2 separate regions of the Homo sapiens genome follow, and region 1 is linked to region 2. The links are contacts of gene promoters, found by promoter capture Hi-C in blood cells and fetal thymus (Javierre and others, 2016). All regions are on one chromosome and are shown on one strand. Each heading gives the region's core, a stretch centred on a gene start or on the middle of the fragment in contact. The rest is flanking DNA. Distances are from core to core; before and after follow the strand shown.

Region 1 (5,641 bases), core at 3,078-5,577, 3.8 Mb after region 2:
ATGTGCATTCCTGTGGTGGCCAAGGAGAATGAGGAGAGAACGAGCTTGCACAGGTCGTGGCCATGCTAGAGGGGTTTGACTGAAGTCTTGCTGGGACATAATGTGATAACATGCCTTCTCTGAGTCTCAATATACTCAATATACTGGACAACGAACTTTGTCAGAAACGTGATAGCACAATAAGCATGATGTTAGATTTAAAAAACCTACCAAGCTGAGGGGTCCACACCATCCACCACAGCATAGAACATCAGAGGGTTCTTGCCAAAGCGTAAAGTGAAAACAGAAAAGAAATGCCATGTGCTCAGAGGAGTGATGTGTCCAGCCGTGCCCTCATCTCCTCTCCTTCCTACCTTTCACAGTCCGCCTCTAAGCTTTCACCCAAGCTTACTTCTGTGGGTTCCAAATGTGGATCTCAGAATCAAGAAAACCTCCTAGGTTCTGTAAACGAGAATGATTCACATCACCAGTGTTTACTCGCACCCTCACCAGGCACAACTCCGGGGCTGTGAGGTTCTCAGGCACAAGGCACACCTTGTCCTGCCTGCCTGTCTGTAGGGACATGGGGAGTGTTACTTGAGCCCAAGGGATGGCAAAGCCAGGCTTGCCAGGAGCGAGGAATGTTCCCAGAAAAGAGGGGAGAGGGAAGGCTTTAGAGCACTGGGGACGATGGCCCGGAGGAGGCCCAGTGTCACTCTAGGCTGACCAGGACTAACCCACGTCATGCTCAGGGATCCCAAGGGGCCAGCAAACAGCTCAGCAGGGCTACAGCAGGTGCTTCCTTCAGAAAAAAAATGTGTAGGGAGGGGACCAGGAAAGAGGATGCCTGTCAATGAGACAAGAATAGCACTGGGTGGTCACAGGAGCATGGAAAAACCCAAACAACAGCTAAAACAAGAACAAGACAAAGAAACAACAAGATAACAGAAAACCCAAAGGAAGAGAGTAAAAACAGCTGAAATCCCACTCAGGGTGACTTGTCCATGGCTCTTCTGGGCAAACCCAAAGAAGGGAGAAAGGAGACAGTAACCCAGGGGGTTCCCTGAAATCTCCTCCTCTTCCAGAACACCTAATAATTGTTCCATCCCCTAATTAAAGAAACACCCATAAAATTAGAAACCCAGACTCTGCTGGGTGTGACACGTTCTCATGAGCACGCCCGCACTTCTCTCTCAAGTGTGTACTTTCGCTTCTCACTAACAGTTTCTTGCCTTTCCTATCATTCTGACTCATTCCCGAGTTCTTTCTCAAGACAGTTTCAAGAGCCTGGACATCAACTGGGGCTGGGGTCTCACCAGCATCTGGAGAGCCTCCTGAGTCCTCTGGCAACATCAAGGGAAGGAAGAGAAGATTCCTCCGTGGAGCCCGTCCCCGCACAATTCCCGCCCTGGGACACGGCACGGCTGCTTTGAACCAAGCCTCACCCTTGGCACTCGAGTTGGCTGTGTTCCCTATGATCCATCTACCCACCGTCTCCAGGACAAGCACTGCCCCATTCACTGAAATCAGCACATAGTAATGCTGGATAAGTGAATGAATTGGTGAATGAGTGAACAAGTGAATGTGTGCACAGCTCACTTGTTTAATTGGAGTTCCGAGTTTGGAAGTGAATGAACAGAAAAAAAATCAGTCACCAGACCCCAGATCCAAGTCATGAGATGTAGCAGCTGGATGACCTTGGATGTAGCGCATCACTTCTCTGAGCCTCACCTTCCTTATCTGCAATGAAATCAGGGAGCTTGCCCTGCCACCCCGCAGGGACACGGGAGCAGCAAGGGCTGGGTAGGCACCCAGTCAACGTAAAGCTCACAAGTTGTTGCCACCCTTCATCACGACCCCAGGACATGAAGCAGATACTGTATATCCTGGACCCTCCGGCCGAAAGCTCTTCCGGCTCCTGGGCAGGGCCAGCCCCCAGGCTCCCCAGTGGCATGCCCAGACAGTTCCAAAAGGCAGGACCGAAGCAAAGAGCCAGGATCCAAGCGGGATCCTGACCTGGGATACACACATTCCTCGGCGTGCTTTCCTGCTTTTCCATTCTTTATAAATCAGAAAATTAATTACCAGAAAAAGGATCTTCTGCACCAGAAACTCAAATGAGTTTAATGTATAATTTATACATGAAAATGTAGATGTCTATGTGTGACAAATCTCTGTATAAATATTTTTGCAGTTAAATTTTTAGGCATCTGTCTCCCTCCAAGAAGAGTCATCATGCAGGCATCATGAGTCCCCAGGGCTCAGGCCGGGTGGTGCTGGCAAGGTGGCTTGTCATTTCACCAGTTAGTGATGCAGCTGCCAGCGCAGCCCAGCCCGGAAGGCCCCAGCTTTGGCAGCAGCCACCTGCAGCCAAGTCACAGCTCTGCCCCAACCTCCCCGGCAGGGTCCTGCTGTGTCTTGTTCAAAACAAGGATTTAACACCATGTGCCACCTCTGTGCTGGGCCCAGGGGAGGAAGATAGAGTGGAGGAAGCCCTCACACACCAGTGCCTTTGAGCCCATCGGAGAGCCAGGCAAGCAGATGAGGAATGACAATGACAGGGTGGCAAATGCCAGGGCAGGCGTGGGTCCTACATGCCAGGCAGCCACAGAGGAGCAAGTACTGCCCTATGCAAGAGCATCCCTGAACACTCCAGGGCAGGGGGGCCACTCCTGATGGAGTCTGTCAGGTGGATGAAGGCAGAAGGACATTCCCAACGGTGAGAGCCACTCATGTGAAGACCAGAGACAAGAGCAAGCATGTCCAGATGATGTGGGTGTGGCCTGTGGCACCTGGTGGGGACTGGCCAGCAGTGAGCCTGGCATGGAGAAGAGCCAGATCACCAAGGGAGCTGTGTGCTCAGCCCTGAAACAGGACTTTGTTCTGGATTGAAAACTTCAAAGGGTGAAGGCACATAAGCCTTGCAAACTGTAAAGTGCATGCAGCATCCACAGAAACTACAATCCCTGGCAGGATTGAGTCCTGTGCCAAGCCAAGCCTCAGCAGCCTGCCAGTTTCTGGCCCAGGGGTCCTGGATGATTTCCTTCACCCACAGGTGTACCAGTCCATAGGATTGACTGGCACATGACTTTGCATACAAAACACCTGAAATGTAGGCTAGGCCCTTGCTTCTCATCTGCAGTTGCTACGACCATTTGGGGATGGTCATTCATTGTGTGGGACGTTCCCTGATGCCCTCTCTCCGGATGCCCAGTGGGGCTCCAGAGACAACCCACAGCATCCTCCTGCCGGAGGATCTGGAGGGAGAGGCACAGTCCACAGAAGGGGCCCTAGCCAAGAACTGGTGTGCCACGCATGCCAAGGAGAAAGGAACTGCATATCTACACCACACTCTGGCCCAGAACCAATGGCAAGGGTCACAAATATGCCGTCGTTCACCCTACCATTGCCAACCACGTCGGAGCACAATCTGAAGTCTCAATGGTGTCTTCCCAGAACTCGGGCCTTCCACAACAAGACAAAGCAAGTCCCAACTCCCCGACTCCAATAAGGGCCGCTGGACAGCCTCTGCAGCAGCCTCGAAGCCCTAAGGTCCTGGCCAAAAGGCAAAAGCACAGGCTCATGGGACCTGATGCCCACAAGACAAGGGTTTCAAGCCCCCAGCCCTCATCACCCCAGTGCCCATCTTGAAGAAGGGCACAGCCTGGCCCTGCTAATTTTTCTACCTCCTGGGGGACTGGTGGCCTACCTCTCTGTGACTCCCAGCCACGTACCTCGCTTGGTCTTTGGAGGCCTGAGACCCTCGTCCTGGGCCAGGGCCTCCCAAGTCTCCCGCTCCTTCCAGCGCCTCAGCTGCTCCTCCCGCATTTTGTAGAAGAGGATGTGCTTCTGCACATCGCTGAGCTCGGCAAGGAGCTCGGGGTCGATGTACATGTCGTGCAGGATCTGCTGCAGCATGATGCCACCTGGGATGCACGCACCAGAAGGGCAGCCAGCAGGGGAAGCAGGGCCAGGCAGAACGCCCGAGGGGCTGCTCTGCACTACGGACTGCTCAATCCGGGGCCACTCTCGGTGCCCCTTCTCTGTGCAGCATTGTCAGTTGGCCTCAGCTTGCAGCCAGCGACGAACTCATCTCCTCTACCCAGGACAGCAAAAGAGGCCAGGCAACAGGACCCAAAGGGGCAGGTGGGACTCTGCAAGGGGGAGCAACCACCAGGAGCAATCTAGTCCTTCTCCTGGGTCACCAAGCACGGCATCCCAGGAGAGCCCATGTCTTGGCATCACCTGGGGTTCTGAGACAATGGGAAGGGCCCAAGCCTCCAGCTCAGCCAGGAAATGCCCAGTCCCAGCCCTGCCTGGGCTGGTAGGTGTCGAGTGATCTGTTAGTGGAAGGTAACAATGACACCAGCTATATCAATGACACTGCCCCGGCCAGCTGGGAACTGATCTCTCCTCTGCAGATAAGAGGAGGAGAAGGAGGCAGACTTGCCTACTAAATTCCATGTCTTTTCAGCCAATTTCAAACACAGACCAGAGGAGCCTGCCAGAAGCTGCTGGGCCCCTCAGCCCTCTCAGCCCCTCTCTCTGCGGGTTCCTTCGCTGCCAACTTTCTTCCTTTCCAGAACATTTGGCATTCTGAGATGATGCGTTTAAAACTCTGCCTTGGGGGAGGAAAGATTTTTCCTCCTATCTGTGTTACAGCCAAGAAAGAAAACAAAATGGAATCAGTAGAGACAACTGGAGGGGATTTTATCTTGGAATTCCAGGACAGAAAGGAAGCAGACATCCTTTCCCTTTGGCCTATATATAATGAGATCCTGCAGCCATGCGTGGCTGACAGATAAACCCTCCAGGGGCCAGTTTTAATGGTCGTTGTTAATCTTGTTTGTTGCAGATGCCTGGAGTTGACCAAAAAGAAAGAAGATGAAACTGGCTCTTCTCTGTGCCCTGATCAGAAGCACACTGGAATGGCGGGATGTTGCCTTCTGCTGGGAGGGAAGCCACCCTCTCTTTGGTGTGTGAAGGTGGGTAGAAGCTGCCGTTGCTGAGATCTTTAGGGTGAAAGCTCACCCTAAATATGTGCTCAGAGCAAATCACAGATGCCTTCTTATTGGGACAAGGATATTGAAGCTCAGAGAAAGTAAGTGGCTTGCCTATGGCTTCCTAATGGACAAGTCACTGTATTGGGACTCCCCCGTTTTGAAATTTGACATCCACTAGCAACTATGAATCTGTTGATGGTTTGAAAACATAACCCAACCAAGGGAAAACAAACGAACCAACAGGATTTGGCACTGTGGCTTGGTTGGATTGGTGACCTTCCTGTCCCCTTCCTTGCCCATGAGGGTGGAAGGTGGATCAGGTACCCAAGAGTGATGGAAGAGGGGTGGAGAGTTGGCATTCTTCCCCCTCTGCAAGGTTAACACAACAGGAAGATGGACTAAGCAGATTCAGATGAGCTGTAAGCCCATAGGGTCAAAGCTCCTGCTCAGCTAGGCAATGTCCAGGTCACAGGAGTGGAGTCAGACGCCCCACCCCTCCCCACCCAGGTCCAGCTAGCTGGTCCCAGTGTGCCCAGACCTTCCTAGAGCCGCCACAGGACTCGCCTGTCCGCTGCAGAGCTGTGGCCCTGGACTCCCATCCACCCACCTCAGGGCTTGCACCGACTCCCCCACCGGGAGTCCTGGCTCCCCTCAGTTTC
Region 2 (5,714 bases), core at 1,474-3,973:
GTATTCAAAGAGGGAGAAAGTGCAAGCAGATTTGCACTCCCTCTGAAAAACTGGCAGCTCCTTCATTTCACCCCAAAGCACCATGGAGTAGTGAAAAACACACAATGATGAGGTCAGGAGATATGAGATGTAGGTGAGCCTAAGCAATCTCAAACAAGTTGTCTTTTTAGGCTGAGTTGTTTAACCGTAAAATTTTTAAAGTTGAACCAAATAATCTGTTAATTCTTTCAAGTTCAATATTCTATTGACCCTTTTTTCAGAACACATCCAAGTCGCTCACAACTCCCATTCAAATTGTAAAACAATTAAGATTTAGAATTAGGAGACTGGGGGCAAAAGTGAAATACACAGATGGTCAAAAGACCTGGACTGTAATCCCCGCCATCCCTTTCTACCTGCGTGACTTTGCGCCTCAAAATAAAGTTGTAGGACCAATGAAGCAGCAATCTTTATTGGTCATGCCCTTTTTATTCCTGTATCATAAAATGGATTTTTTTTAACATAACTGGGGTTTCATTCCTAACCAGCCTACAATCCCAGCACTTTGGGAGGCCGAGGTGGGCGGATCACGAGGTCAGGAGTTTGAGACCAGTCTGGCCAACATACTGAAACCCGTCTCTACTAAAAAAAAATTAGCCAGGTGTGGTGGTGTGTGCCTATAATTCCAGCTACTCAGGAGGCTGAGGCAAGAGAATCGCATGAACCCAGGAAGCAGAAGTTGCAGTGAGCCGAGATGAGGCCATTGCACTCCAGCCCAGGCCACAGTGCAAGACTCTGTCTCAAAAAACACAAAAGAAACCCCAAAACCTGGTGGAGACAGACACATAAACAAATCATTAACTACCAGTTGACAAATACTAACTGGAGAGTGTACGAATCAGTTAAGACAAGAGGGATGAAATGTCTAGACAAGCCTCAGAAGTGCTACTTTCGTAAGGTCTTCAAGGGCAAGTTGTTTACTAGGTAGAGAATTCTCAACAAAGAACACTGAAAAACCACAGAGGAAGATGTCATCTTCAGAGAACTGCAACAGTCTTATATAGAGAGGGCAGGCATAATGGTAGAAGATGACACTAGAATGGAGACAAATACCGCTAATCATGAAGGACTTTGAATTTTATCGATATAGACTATGGAGAGTCACTGAAGGACTTGTAAATATGGATTCAAAGTCCCTTCCTCCAAAATAGTCAAAGGAGTTGAGTCAAAGCAACAAAAAATGCAGGTCTGAATGTGGAAAGGTAGAATTTTTACAGAATTCTTAATAGAGACTTTCGGCTTGCTTTCAGGATGGCTTCTAGTGCTTTCTTAACTATGGCTTATGCTGAAGTACGACAGTATGAATTATGGCTAAAGGGTTCAACAAAGTGTGCATTTTTAACCTGAAGATTATTTGAAGCCAATGTTGTTTAGAACACAAACGAAAACAAAAAATAACAGTAACAAGCTTTCATAAATTAAGAGAAACAGTAATAAAGTCCAAGAGGAAGAAGACTGATTTCAGGCAAACACTCAGGAATATTTACATTTTTATCACATATGGATGACGGATAAGACATGTTTTGAACCCATCTTTTGCAGGAGAGCATCTTAAGTTCCTTTTGGTTAAAGAGCAGCTGCCATCTCTAAAGTCTCTAGTCTAAAAGATGATGCTTTAAAAAAAACAACTGGCCAAATGAATAGGTTCCGTCATATTTTAATGCTCAGGAGAAAAGGAATGCTTTTCATATGGCTATTTTAAAAAGCTTAAAGCTCAATTTCTCTCTTACAGGAGTGAGCTACCAACACTCTAATCTGAGACCAGAGTCCCTGCGTCAGTCATTTCCACTCCGCTAAGGCCTTGTCTGGGAGCAGCCAGCCTCATTGGTCGGGGAGCCCACACAGATGAATATGCAATTACTGAAATGGAAACAAGCTTCGCCACCAAGGACCACCACAAAGGAGTCCCTTCATTCCTCCTTTTACTTTATCAAGAAAGTAGGTGCATTATTTAAAAATGTATGAAAATACATGTCTAAAGACAAGAGAGAAGATCTGAACCTACGGCAACGGTGTGCCCCACCAAAGTTTCACCTCAGGATGTGTTTTAGGGTGTGTCTTTCATTTAGCCCAGTAATTGAAAGAAAAAAAAAATCGAACTCATTCGGGGAGCCCCGGTACTTTCCCTATCCACCCTCACACGCAACCAGGCTCCGAAATCAGAGTGCCTCAGCCTCGCCCTGATTTCTCCTGAAAGGCGGCGGCGCCCGCGGCCCGAGGCCCCGCGCTGTCACAGCCGCAGGGAGGGCGCCCTCCGGCCTCCCGGGTCCGCGCCCGCCCCGCGTCCGGCGGCTCGCGAGGGGCTAGAGAGGCTCACCCTGGAGGCCGGGTACGGGAGGGCGACACCGCCTCAGCCCGGGAGTTCGGGCCTCCGCCCCGCCCCGGACTGCGTGCCTGGTCTTGGGCTGCCCCCGGCGCCCGCCGCGACCCCGGCCCCGGCTCTGGCCCTGAGCCCGGATCTCACCGTGCGGAGGTCGCGCTGCCTCCTCGGCCGCGGCCCAGCTGCAGGCCGCCCTGCGACCTGCGGGCCCGAGGACGGAAGGTGAGACGAAGGGCCGCCCGTCACATCCCCGCCAGCCCCGCCGCCCGAGCCGCAGCAACCAGCATCGCGTCCGCGGCCTGAGGGAGCGCCGGACTCCAAAGCCGCCGCGCCCCCTCCCTCGGCCGGCGCCCGCCCGGACTCCGCCCTCCAGGGCCGGCGCACCGCGCACGCGCAGTCCCGCCCCGCCGCGGGCCCGTGCGCAGGCGCGAGCCTCACGGGGCTACGGGGACCGCCCCCACCGCCTGATCCGGCCTCAGCCCACCTCTGGCCCCGCCCCGCCCTCACGCCAGGCTTTCCCAAGCTCCGCCTCCGCTTCGGGCCCCGCCCCCTCCACTGACCTTGCCTGGCCGCCTCCTGACTCAGGTTTTTGCTGGGCCCACGCAGTGACGCCAGTCTTGCGGCTGACCTCACCTCTAGCCGTCCCCTGGACTACATTTGCTGCTTGAGTGCGGTCAAACCTGACAGCTCCTCCTCCTGGATGTGAAAAGTGAGGAGTGGTCTGAGCATTGGGCATGACTGAACCACGCACCTGCCTACCGCATCAAAACACAGGATCTTGCTAAAGCTGAGGGGAAGGGGCACCCCAAGTGCTGATCTGGTTTTCCCTTTTTTTTTTTTTTTTTGAAACAGAGTCTCGCCCTGTCACCCAGGTTGGAGTTCGGTGGCGCTATCACAGCTCACTTGCAGCCTCCTGGGCTTAAGCGATCCTCTCGCCTCAGGCGTGTATCACCAAGCCTCCGAAATAATTACAACTAAGACCACACTAGTCAAAGTAAACTATCACAAGTTGACCCAAATACCCGGCTAATTTTTATTTTTTCTTTTTAGAGTTGGGGGAAGTGGTCTTACAGGCTAGTCTCAAACTCCTGGGCTCAAGCAATCCTCCCACCTTGGCCTCCCAAAGTGTTGGGATTACAGGCGTGAGCCACAGCTCCTGGCCAATGTGGTTTCTTTGCCAGAAACCAGGTCTTTCTTCCCTTTGGGGCTTCCATCCCCCAGAGGCCATCTCTTCCCCTCTTGTTTTTCCTCGACGCGGCCAGTCCTGCTGCTGAGAGTCCTCAGCCTGGAAGGCTTCCGGGCCTGGCCGGCTGTTTAAAGCTCTGGAGTTGCCCTTACCTGGTTGTAGACTTGCAGTTCTCTGAAATCCTCGTCGGCCCCAACAGCTCGGTTGTAATAACATTTCAGGAGAACTGCTTGAAAAATATCCAGTTCTTTCCTGTCTCCAGATCAATGATACTCAAATGGAAAAAGCAGACGGAATGCCTGATTTGTATAACCACACTTCATTTAATAATACACTTTCATATTTAGAAAATAATGTCTTTTAAATATCAATCCCTAAGATATTTAATGTATTGGACAATAATGTGTGCTTAAAATATTGACAAAGACTAGGTCTAAATGCTGTGCAATCTCTCTTTGGATTAAGTGAGATTAGAAAAGCAAACACCAGGCCGGAGGCGATGGCTCAAGCCTGTAACCCCAGCACTTTGGGAGGCCAAGGTGGGAGGATCACAAGGTCAGGAGTTCAAGACCAGGCTGGCCAATATGGTGAAATCCCGTCTCTACTAAAAATACCAACAAATTAGCCGGGCGTGGTGGCGCATTCCTGTAATCCCAGCTACTTAGGAGGCTGACGCAGGAGAATTGCTTGAACCTGGGAGGTGGAGGTTGCGGTGAGATGAGATCATGCCACTGCACTCCAGCCTGGGCGGCAGAGTGAGACTCCATCTCAAAAATAAAATAAAATAAAATAAAATGCCCAGGCCAGTTGTGGTGGCTCACGACTGTAACCTCAACACTTTGAGAGGCTGAGGCGGGAGGATCACTTGAGCCTAGGAGTTCAAGATCAGCCTGGGCAACATAGAGACCTAGTCTATTAAAAAAAAAAGAAATTAACCAGGCTTAGTGGCATATGCCTGTAGTTCCAGCTATTCAGAAGGCTGAGGCAGTAAGATTACTTAAGCCCAGGAGGTTGAGACTACAGTGAGCTGTGATCATGTCACTGCACTCCAGCCTGAGTGACAGAGCAAGACCCTGTCTCCAAAAAAAAAAAAAAAAAAAAAGAAGGCTAGGAAAAAACTTTCCCATAATGCTAATACATGTACATACTTAGCAGAATCACAATAGCATTTTAGTGTATTTTCCTAATTTTATAAGCATCCTTGATACGTTTTATTTGCTTTCAGTTAATTTTCCTGGGTCTTTTCTTTTTTTTTTGAGATGGAATCTTGCTCTGTCACCCACACTGGAGTGCAGTGGTGAGATCTGGGCTCACTGCAGCCTCCACCTCCCAGGTTCTGCGATTCTCCTGCCTCAGCCTTCCAAATAGCTGGGATTACAGGCATGTGCCACCACGCCGAGCTAATTTTTGTATTTTTAATAGAGACAGGATTTCACCATGTTGGCCAGGCTGGCCTCAAACTCTTGACCTCAAGTGATCCGCCCGCTTCGGCCTCTGCTGGGATTACAGGTGTGAGCTACCGTGCCCGGCCTGCCCTTCCTCCATCTTCAAAACCTGCAAGAGTAGTTTGAGTCCTTCCCACATTGCATCACTCTGACCTCCTCTTCTGTCTCAGTCTTCCACTTTTAAGGACACATGATTATGTTGGGTCCAACTGGATGCTCTAGAATAAGAACCTTATTTTAAGGCCAGTTGATTAACAGCCTTAATTCCATCTGCAACCTAAATTCTCCTTTTTTGGCATCCTCTTGATGTAAGAGAGAGACATTCTTTCAGGGGAAGTTTTAGGATTCCATGACAAACAGCACAATGAAACAGTTGATCCAGAGCCCCAGTAGGAGATGATTCTGGAGACCATCCAAAAACAGACAAGTTGGGTGCAGTCCCACACACCTGTAATTCCAGCTACTTGTGAGGTTGAGGCTGGAGGATTGCCTGAGGCCAGGAGTTCAAGCCCCACCTGGGCAACATAGCAAGACCCTGTCTCTAAGAAAAAAAAAAATACAACAGACAAGAATCTCTGATGAAATCTCCTGGCTAGGCATGGTGGCTCAAGCAAGAGCTTTGGGTGGCCAAGGCAGGAGGATAACTTGAGGCCAGGAGTGTGACCAGCCTGGGCAACATGGTGAGAACCCCCCATCTCTACAAAAATAAAAAATAATAAAAGTT

Evidence for each region. The method cuts DNA at HindIII sites, captures the fragments that hold promoters and counts their contacts. A CHiCAGO score of 5 or more calls a contact.
Region 1: a contact is called between the fragment with the promoter of SH2D4B here and the fragment with the promoter of CCSER2 in region 2, in 3 of 17 cell types (total B cells, M0 macrophages and activated CD4 T cells). The highest score is 7.3, in total B cells.

The regions. Positions count from the first base shown.
Region 1 is chr10:80,536,588-80,542,228 of GRCh38, reverse strand. SH2D4B (SH2 domain containing 4B) reads right to left here and starts at 4,327. Exons shown (of 8, transcript NM_001388272.1): 1 at 3,714-4,327. The coding sequence starts at 3,897. RefSeq lists enhancers at 767-886, 1,057-1,116, 1,267-1,446, 2,484-2,623. The HindIII fragment of the contact is 17,935 bases long and covers 389-5,641 here.
Region 2 is chr10:84,325,598-84,331,311 of GRCh38, reverse strand. CCSER2 (coiled-coil serine rich protein 2) reads right to left here and starts at 2,723. Exons shown (of 10, transcript NM_001284240.2): 1 at 2,504-2,723. RefSeq lists enhancers at 703-782, 1,830-2,179 and a silencer at 2,230-2,959. The HindIII fragment of the contact is 12,289 bases long and covers 1,918-5,714 here.